Linked DNA regions of Homo sapiens: region 2 is linked to region 1. The links are contacts of gene promoters, found by promoter capture Hi-C in blood cells and fetal thymus (Javierre and others, 2016). All regions are on one chromosome and are shown on one strand. Each heading gives the region's core, a stretch centred on a gene start or on the middle of the fragment in contact. The rest is flanking DNA. Distances are from core to core; before and after follow the strand shown.

Region 1 (5,361 bases), core at 2,171-4,670:
GGTAATCTAATGTACAGCCTGATGACTATAGTTAACAAAGTGTACAGTATACCTAAAATGTGCTAAGACAGTAGATCTTTAGTGCTTTCACCACAAAAAAAAAAACCCTATGTGAAGTGATGATATTAACTAGCTTAACTGTGATCATTTCTCAATGTATATGTATGTCAAACTATCAAGTTCTATGCCTTAAACATATAGTTTCTATTTATCAATTATACCCTACTAAAGCTAAAAAAATTTAAGTATTATCTACATTTTACAGGTGAGGAAATTAAAACACAGGCATGTGACACAATTTAGGCAAAGTCTCACAGCAACCAGAGCCAGAATACTGAGAACACGGGTTTATCTGACTACAAGACCCATGTATTTTCTGATTATTAAAATCATGGCTTCAAACAGAATACACTAACGGATAAGAGATTCCACTGAAAAACTGTTCCTTTCATTTTAAAGTTCTTACTTCAAGGACTCCAAGTCTTTTGTCGTCATGAAATTCTATACCATGAATAGTTTTTATAAGATCTGACCAATGGAACTTACTGGGTACAAACCTAGATCCCGTGTTTAAAATAAAAAGAGAGAAATAGTTATAATCTTTCAAGTAAGATGTTATCAAAAAAGGCAAAAATGCAATAATACCTAAGTACTACTGAAAAGAGGAAGCTGCTGGCTTGCCCCATAGCCCCATTGCCCACTGAGTCCACTATCTAAACTAGACCCTTATCTTTCTTTACAGAAAGAGCTCTTGTATAACACTCCAAGGATACAGTTTCTAATCCTCCTCCAACACTGATTTGCTTTGGATCTTGGCCAAATGATTTATACATGAAGAGGTTAGGGATTTCTATACCGTATCTCATGGTGGCCAAAAAAGTTAATTTTTTTTTTTTTTTTTGAGACAGGATCTTGCTCTGTCACCCAGGTTGGATTACACTGGTGCAATCATAGCTCACTGTAGCCTTGAACTCCTGGGCTCAAGTGATCCTCCCACCTTAGCCTCCCAAAGTGCTGGGATTACAGGTGTGAAACACCACATTCAGTTAATTTTTTTTTAATTTTTTTATTTTTTGTAAAGATGGGTTGTTGACGAGGCTGGTGTCAAACTCCTGGCCTCCAGCAATCAATCATCCCCACTCAGCCTCCCCAAATTCTGGGATTACAGGCGTGAGCTACCGAGCGTTGCCAAAAGTTGATTTAATTCTATGACATTTCTATAAAGATGTTATAAATGACGATATACAAAATAGAGTCCTGAGGTCTTAGTAATTTGCGTGATCTTAATCTAACCATAGAGTAAAACTTCACAATCCAACTTTTCCACGTTGTTCCCCTGCCCAAATGGTTTCTTATGCGCGCAAATGTGGTGACATGCTGTTCTTCATCACATTTTTACAAAGAGAGATAAATACACCTATAGTTCTAACTTAGATGTACGCCTCATTTAAAATAAAGAGTAATGCTACTCAAAGGACCTAAAAAAGTACAGTATTTCGGTTGACTCAATCCTGACACATAAAACTTAACGTTTCAGTAATGATTATATTGGATGTTTATTAAAACTGAGGCTATTTTCGAAAATTTCAAATAATTTTATTAAAATTAGCTGGTCAAGCAAACAAAATTTGTAAATTTCTGTCACAAAATAAAATATCTAAGACCAAGGCACTAAAAATGTGATGTTAACATCAGTCTAATTTCATTCAATATTTAATTAAAATGTTGCTTCCTTACAATTCTACCCCATATAAAAATAATTCCTTTTCCATAATTGCAAATGCTTCACAATAACATACTAGGCCATAAACAGTTTAGCTTCAACCTGTCATTTTTCACGAGCTCATTCAAGTCTTCAGTGACTGCTTTCTCCCAGGACAGACAACTGAGGGTCCTGATGTAGGAATTACCCTGACTGTAATCAAATCTCAGGGTAAAAACATGACAAGTCCGCTTTCCACGCTGCTCCTCTGCCCAAACTTTCCCCTTTCATTCTGGGAATGACCATCGACTCTCAAAATGATGTTAAACAACAGCCCACAACTGATCTATACTCCCTCTTCCGACAAACCCTATACTTCTCTATATCAAAGCAGCATTTGCCAAGTCTTGGTAGGGAGCACTTCAGGTCATTCCCAGAGAGATGCCCATACATAAGGTGGAAGTGTCCATGTTGCAAGGCAGTGCAAACGCTCAGATTTCAAGCATTCATAATGCGTTGACAGAAACATTTTTTTTCTATTTAAATCTCATGTTGATTCCCACTCTGGCAGTGATTACGTCCTAAGTCATTACGTCGCTTTTTAAATACCAATTTGTCAAGAAAGGTAACTCCATCCCATCCAACAACAGACTTGAGCACGCCAAGTATCGCTCATTTTTCTTAATTTGCTCTAAGTTTCTTAATAAACTGAGTGTTTCCAAAAGAAAATTTCACAACCCGCACAAATGCCATTTCCAAATTTAACTAACCATGGCTAATACTTAGAAGTGTAAGCGTTAACACAGGAAAATCAGCATGAGGGACAAAATACACACACATATACACTCACACACACACACACAATCCTTAAACACTGAACTAGGGCGCCAGCCTCATGTTTAAATATCTCAACTTGAACTCCACTGAAACAAGAGGAAATTCTCACTAGCCAGGCAGCAGTAAGGCTTTTGTGGACACCTCTTATTTTCAAAGAACCCTCTTTTTAAAAAGTTGAAAATTAATTTCTAACTGCTTTAAAGGGCGCATGACTGGGTCAAAAGATAAACACAGAAAGTGTAGGACACTCTCAGGCGGGAGCAGCGCAGGTTTAGCCCCGGCCGGAGGGGAAGGAGGGAAATGAGTGAGGGGTCAGAGACAGGAGGAAAGACGCGGGAGACGCGGCACCCACCGGCGAGCAGCCCGGGCTAGGCCGAGCCCGCGCCCAGCGCCCCGCGCCCGCCGCGTCCCCCACACCGGGAACTGCCCGTACCTGTCCGACACGCCGGGATGCGCTGCGGGGCCCGCGACGCCGGCGCCTCTCACGGCGCCGCGTCCGCCGCCCGCGAGCCAGGAAGCCACCGCGGCCTGCGGCTTCCCGCCACCGCCGCCCGTTCCTTCTTCCAGGGACACGGCGAGCTGGCTGAAAGCGTAAAGGAGCGAGCAGAAGCCGCAGGCCACACACAGCACCACGACGCGCAGGTAGCGCCGCATCGCCCCGGCCGCGCTCCTCCTTCGCCGCCGCCGCCGCGCCCGCCCCGACGAACTGGAGCGGAGGGAGGGGCACCGCGCAGCCGCGGGCGCAACAAGTTCCTCACCCGCAGCCGCCGCCGCCGCCTTGCGCCCGCTCCCTTCCTTCCCTCCCCGCCCACCACCTAGGCGAGCGCAGTCGCGGCTCCGGAGCCGAAGGACTACCCGCCCGGAAGCCTGGACACCGCCTCTGCCGCCGCGCGCTCAAGGGTCAGCGGCAGCGACGCAACCCCGCCCCTCCCCCGGGCGGGAGGGCTGGACGCGCCGGCGCAGTTCGCGTGGGAGGGACGCAGGGCTGGCGCGCAGAGGGTGGTGTGAGTGCGCGGAACGCGGCGCGCCTGAGGGCTATAGCTAGCGCAGGCCGACGCGCAGGTGAATGGGAGCCCTGTGGGTCTCGACCGCCGAGAGAGGGGGAGCGAAAGCCTCAGGGCTCTGGAGGCAGTTGACCTAAATTCTAATTATGGTCCTTCCACATGGTAGTTTGTGACATTGGGCAACCTAAATTCTCTGAGCATGTTTCTTCGTCCCTAAAATGGAGCTACTATCCTCATCATGGGGTGGTTGTAAAGATTAAACTGTTTAACGCTCGAAAACCGCCTAACACTTAGAAGACACTTGACTAGGCCAGTTTCCTCTCCATCCTCCCCCAGCCTCTAAGTTTCTGTGATACTATAATGTGCACGAGCCATTTTCACCCCGATAAGCTCATTGCTTCGTGTGTTTGGTATGCGGACCTTACCTCTTGCCTCCCAGCAGACAGTGAGTTCCTGTAAGGCAGGGCTCTTCCCTTTGACCTTTTTGACCTCCCTCACAACTCATTATTTTCATGTGCAAAACAATTAGTATTCTCTCCACAGAGCTTCTTTCTTCCCCAGTTCTTCTCCCTCTTCTTCTGTGTTTCCACTACGTTCATTCATTGACCATTTATAAAGCATCACTTGTGCCAAGCTCTGTGTGAGTACCTAGGGGTATAAAGAGGCCTAAGTGGAGCGTGGGTGGGACAGCGGATACTTGTAAATAAGCGCAACGCAGTGATAACAGACTTAAGATCCAGGCCTGTAAGGGTGTGGGCATACACACAAAGGAACAATCAGTTCTATCTGTGAGTATGGTCAAGAGAGACTTCATAGCAAAGGTGGCGCTAGAGTCTTGAGTCGGGTAAGGGAAGTAATTCCAGGCTGAAGGATCAATAAACAGGCTCTTGTGTAGGGAACTGTTGAGAAGTTTGATACCACCAGCTAAGTGAATGCAAGAGAGGGTATGATGAGCGATAAGCGCGTAGAAGGGGCCAGATATTTGAGTGCTTTGTTTAGCACACCAAGGAGTTTGAATTTAATCTGCAAGACATTAGTGAACCATTGAAGGGTTTTTAAATAGGGAAGTAACATGATCACAATTGCATTTTAGAGAGCAGATTCTGGCTGTAGTGTGGAGGCTGAAACAGAGAGAGGAGAGATTGGAGGCAGAAAGCAGCACCAGTGCCAAAAAGTGAGGGAAGGGATACTTAAAAATACACACACACACGAACACACATTCATGGGGAAAAATCATGCGTTTAACTGCTGAAATTGCATCTGGGGCGTTGAAAAGTTTGGCCATGAGATACAAGGTGGGGAAATGCTGCGCAAAATAGTAGCAGTCTCCATTTGGATCCTTGGCTCCCTATACCAAAAAAGTAGTGGTTCTGTGACCATGATAAAGTCACTAAACAAATTTAAGGTTCAACTTCCTCCCCTTCTTGCTTTACCTGATAAAAAATGAACATTAGCATGCTATCAAGATGTGTAAAGAGAATGAGAACATACATTTATGCATTCAATAAACATTTATTGAACATATTCTACATGCCAGACAAGGGGCTCTGATGCAGAGTATTCAGAAATAAAAGGAGTGTACTGCTCTCAAAGGGAAAACAGGCAAATAGAAACCACAAGTATACTAAATTAATACTTCCACTACACCTTACACTTCTTAGAGAAATGAAGATAAACTTAACGAAGTATCCAGAATGATAGGAAAAGCATTGATAAGAATGAAAATACCTTTTGAGAGAAAGCTGAAAGATATGGTACCAAGAAACTAGAGTAAGAGCTAGTACTCAAAAAATGTTTAATTTAAAAGATACTAACTAT
Region 2 (5,261 bases), core at 2,479-4,978, 880 kb before region 1:
TGTGGTATCATGAAATTCAGTAAGTGATTTGCCAGGAGATTGGGTCTTTCAATTGTGTTTATTTTGAATGAATTTCACTATTGCTCTAGTTGGAGGAGATATTCTCAAATGGAAATTGACTGTGATTTATTTGCCCTTTTCACCTATTCACTCATTTTTATTTGTCTTCCTATGAGTGGGACAAACCACAGGTGTCTTAAAATTTGCCTGTTTATATATTTAACAGTAATATTAGAAGGTAACATTAATTCAGCACTTATGTACCTCTGCTAATGCTTTTGATGTTATTTAACCTATTCAACAAACTTTAGAGTAAGTAATATTATTATCCTTTTTATAAGTGAAGAAACAGTACCAGAACTTGAGTGATCCGGGCATGGTCACATAGCAAGTGATAGGGGCTGGATTTAGACACAATGAGCTACTCCCTGTGTAATAACTTCTGAGGGTTACTCCATCACTATTTGTCCTATTAATGTGAAGCTGACAGAGATTATACTGGACCAGTTGGTGTGCTCTAAGCCCAATTGTTTTGTATTGTGTTGTAAATTGTAAATTTTATGTTTCTATTTTTTCTTCTAGTATCCAAAGGAAAATATTTATATCTTGTTTAATTTTTAGCCATTTGAACGAATAAAACCTATAGCCTCAATGTTTTTATTTTGGTAAATAGAAGGAGGGAGGAAAGGAGAGAACGAGAGAGAGAGGAGGTAGAAAGAGTGAGACAAAGACAAATACTAGAAATAAAATGCTTTATTTTACACATAATCTGGAGTAAGAGTCATTGGTGATAGAAGTCATGTTTGTATAGATTAGCTTTAAGAAATCTTTTCTGTCCCCTATTAAAAGAAAAGGGGGTAAAAAGCAACTATTCTGTCATAAATATCATTTTAAACCATAAAATACATGATGAAAATACAAAGACTACTCTCTTAAAATTAAGTACCAAAAACGTGAAACTACATATAATTTATGTATTCCACAAATATTTATTGAGTGCATACTATTTGCTTGTACACTATTCTAGTGCTAGGGATGTAGTGATGAACAAACACCAAATTCCTTGCTCTTATGGGGTTTATATTCTATTAGGAGAGATGATCAATAAATAAATAAGCTAAGAGATATGTCAGGTGGTAACACATACCCAAAGGATAAAGCAAGATAAGGGAAAAAGGGAATGATGGAGGTGCTGTCTGATTAATGTTATGAGTAGTGATGATGATGATGGAGATGGTAAATACAGACTTTAGCTCATTTTTTGGCTTTTATGTTGGTAAAGACACTAGTAAGTAGTACATGGCGGGGGGGCACTACAATTCATTAACACTCTCCTTTATCATAGGTTGAAGCATCAATTTTGAAAACAATTGCATGCATTTAGAAATTAACCTGCATTTAAATACACACATAAAAGACACGGGAAGCAAACTTACCAAAAGTATAATGGATAATAATGGCTATCGTTGGCTGATTTTTATTTTCATGTGTATATTATAAGCATTTTCAACTGGTCCTATGATGCATAATTTTATAGTAACAATAACATTAAATATTTTCATATTTAGCCTATTGAGGAGAAAAGACAGAGTGGAAAGGGAAAGACAGGAGAAAATAAAGAAGAGTCAGAGAGACACTCATAAAAATAGACATGAAAATACAAATACATAGAAAGAAACCGTTCATATTAAGAAAAAGATGCAGAGTGAGGGACATGCTTACGTATTTGCTCACACAATATCACCATGTTATAGCCTTTTAAAAACAGTCACTGAATATTGTAATACTGCATTTTAACAAAACTAGCATGTCAAGAAACACTGGTACTTGAAAGTGTTTATTTGTGTTGGATGAAATTAGACTGAGGGTTGGATCTGCTCCTTATGGTAGAATTAAGTCAGTACCTGCTTAGGCTCTCAGATGACCTTTGTTGCAGACTATAACCACATCTGTGGACAAAGACTTCAAGACACAAGAGAAACAAGTCTGAAAACTATGTTAAGCATTTAAAATAAAAATAAAATCTTAAAAAAATATGAGTATATTGGCCGGACTGATTACTTTGCATCATGTAATTAGTTCACAAATGAGTTTAGTCTAGAGGGCTACTTTTAAGCTAATCAGCTTAGTTTTAGCCCTCTCTTTTAGATATCTTCATTGGTAACTATTTCACTTACTAGGATTATAAATTCTATTTATTTTGCAAGCAAATCTATAGAAATCGAAGTGTCAGTTACAGATGTCTTTTTCATCTATATTTCTGATAAGAGAGAATGCTGACCTTGAAGGAACAGCTTAGAATCATACTAGGACATTTTCTACTTTATTTTAGAATACTGTTGGCAAACTTATTTGTTTGGAGTATCTGGAAGCAATCTTTGGAATTGTTTTGTATTAGGTTAATGAAAATAATCTAATGCATTTTCTATCAAAAATACTGAAAGCAATTAAATTCACATTTCAAAAGTAAGATCTTTCAGATTGTTCTTTCTTTTGGCCAATTCTTTGGATCATATTTTTAGAAAGATTTCCTTTTCATGTGTTTTACTTTTTATTTTTTGACTTACGTATTAGGATAGGAACAACAATACTTCATTCATCCTATTTTCTAGCAGCATTTTTGTATAGTTTCCCTAACATAACAGCAGAGATGTGTGGAGTGGGGAGTGTCCACTAAACAAAGGGTATGAGAAGTGCCATCTTTTGTGGGTGGTCTCTGATTAAACAAGCAGTACAATTGAGTGGAATTGTGAAGCTTTATTTTATTTCGAAACTAAAATAAACTAAGGGCTTAAAGAAATTCAGAATGTAGCATATGTAAGTTATGACCCCAATTATACATGAGTTAATATAAAATTATATTTTTTACATAACAGCATTATGAAACTAAGGTTGCCTTATTTAAGTATTAGTAAAGACACATTTCTTAATATTAAAAATATTATTTGCTACATTTTCAGCAAATAAGAAAGAAAAGTTAATGTTTTATTAGTTCCATCAAAATACTTAACTGATGGTCTGTTGTGCCCACTATGAGTCTAGATAAGGTGATGCTATTATATATTTTAAAGTCAGTAATAAGAATCTTATATAAACTTGTGTACAATTGAAGTCATAATTTGGATTTTCTATAGTCTGCACTTCCTTAGTTTCATCCACAGAGAAACATTAACATTTCTCATACTTGAAATATCCCTGACAGAAAATAACGAGCTTCTAACCCCGTGGTTCTGCTGATTTTCTACAATATCACCCCCCGTAGTCAAGATAGTTTTAAATCTTGTGTTTTATGGAAATCAAATTCCATGATTTATCTCTCCCTTTTAATTAGAAAAAAACATGTTTCTATTAATTGAGTTAAATTGGTGATGCAGAAAGATGCACTATATTTATTATGTTGCCTCATAAATTCCATAGCACATCCCAGTTTTAAAAGACATAGGATTCTCTGTCCTCTTGGTTTATTAGGGATATGCAAATTTTCTAGGGGTTCAGGAATTCCCTAGAGTTTCTCATCCTAATTTGTATCAATTTTTATTAGAAAAAAAAAACTACCTTTCGTTGCATTTCGAAAAACGTATTCAGAATATTTGTGAAGAATGTAAACTGTAGTATTTAGTAGGAGGCAGTTACAAATTTCTTTAAAATATACCTAAGGGAAAATGTGTAAGCCCCATTCCATGTGGATTATTTGTTAGAAATCTAATAACTTGTGATAGATGAGTTCTGCTTCATCAGAAGTTGAAGGCTTAATCAAGATTTAGCAATTAAAGAAATTAGATTTCATTCTTTCACAAAGGCAAAGTAGTTCTATTTCTCTGTTTGTTTGTTTTCTTATTTTTTGAGATGGAGTCTCGCTCTATCGCCCAGGCTGGAGTGCCGTGGCGCGATCTCGGCTCACTGCAAGCTCTGCCTCCCGGGTTCACGCCATTCTCCTGCCTCAGCCTCTCGAGTAGCTGGGACTACAGGCGTGCACCACCTCGCCCAGCTAATATTTTGTATTTTTAGTAGAGACAGGGTTTCACCGTGTTAGCCAGGATGGTCTCGATCTCCTGACCTCGTGATCCCCCCTCCTCGGCCTCCCAAAATGCTAGGATTACAGGCGTGAGCCACCGTGCCCGGCCTCAAATAGTTCTATTTCTCTTTTTATTGTTTTGAAATCTCTTCAGTTCTACCAAATCCAGCAATTTACAATGAAGTGTAATGTAAGAAAGAGGAACGCATTCTTATGCTGGCAGATCCATGCCAGAGAACATGGGATGGGGAGAATAGTATCTGTGGTGGTGGGCAAGAATGGGAAGGGTACAGAATGGGCAGCCTGAAGTCCTGAAGATGGGCTCACTGGCTCCCCATTAAACTCTGGACATTTGTCCGGTGATTGCAATTTCTCTTCCAATCTTCATCCTTCCATTGCCTCCCCCGTGATTCCATTTGTACTCCTTCATGCCTCCCAGATGACTGGTCCAGTTCCCTAAATTAGCGTCTTCTCCAAAACGAGGACTTCTGGAACTCTTTTTCCATTTCCCAGTGGTGCTGATTGATGATACAGTGCTGTAACATTCATTATAGTTTTGCCTGCTGAAAGACCATGACCACAATCTGTCTACGGCCATGCACTGAGATAAGCAGTCACCTATGTGTCCACAACGTTCACTTGCTGGCCCTTGTCTGATGTGTTATCATACATTTGGTTCTGTTTAAGAAGCTTCTGTTGAGTGTCTTCATAAAATGGAATGCCCGTGGCCTGAGTATGCAAAAATGAGTAAGTCAAGGTTTGTGATTTTTAGAAACTTTCAAGTAAGTGAGGGAGCTGGAAAAAAATTCAGTTATTTTGTAATGTGTAATTCTTATAATAATTTCTTATGCAATAGCATCAGTATGGTTGTAGAGGTACAGACTAAAAGATACAAAGATACAACTTCCATTGAAGACATAGAATTTGTGATGATATTTGAAGGAAGATTGGATTTTGAAAGGGTGAAATTGCTATTGGTTAATAAACACCATTAAGTAAAACTATAGAAGTGATCACTGACAGAGAAAACTCAAGGGGAAACTAGTCATGAGCTGAATACTGTTTGTTTAGATATGCTAGATAATTTTAATAGTGAAATATCATTTTAGATGGATTCTATGTAAAATTATTAGAAGGTAAATGTAGATCACTAGAGCAAGATAAGATGTCGGCGTTTCTAGAATTCAATTGAAGACAAATCTTAAAGATTAATAGGTCAGTCAATTAAGTTACCATTTTTAGCCTG

Evidence for each region. Contacts are between HindIII fragments. The CHiCAGO score rates a contact against its expected background, and 5 or more counts as called.
Region 2: a contact is called between a fragment that was not itself captured here and the fragment with the promoter of GXYLT1 in region 1, in 1 of 17 cell types (megakaryocytes). The highest score is 6.4, in megakaryocytes.

What each region holds. Positions count from the first base shown.
Region 1 is chr12:42,141,454-42,146,814 of GRCh38, forward strand. GXYLT1 (glucoside xylosyltransferase 1) reads right to left here and starts at 3,421. Exons shown (of 8, transcript NM_173601.2): 1 at 2,973-3,421. The coding sequence starts at 3,193. RefSeq lists silencers at 2,809-3,038, 3,119-3,618 and an enhancer at 3,779-3,848. The HindIII fragment of the contact is 13,899 bases long and covers 1-5,361 here.
Region 2 is chr12:41,257,665-41,262,925 of GRCh38, forward strand. The region is part of intron 3 of PDZRN4 (PDZ domain containing ring finger 4); the gene reads left to right. Among named protein-coding and RNA genes, the nearest start is that of PDZRN4, 72 kb to the left of the region's middle. The HindIII fragment of the contact is 1,950 bases long and covers 2,754-4,703 here.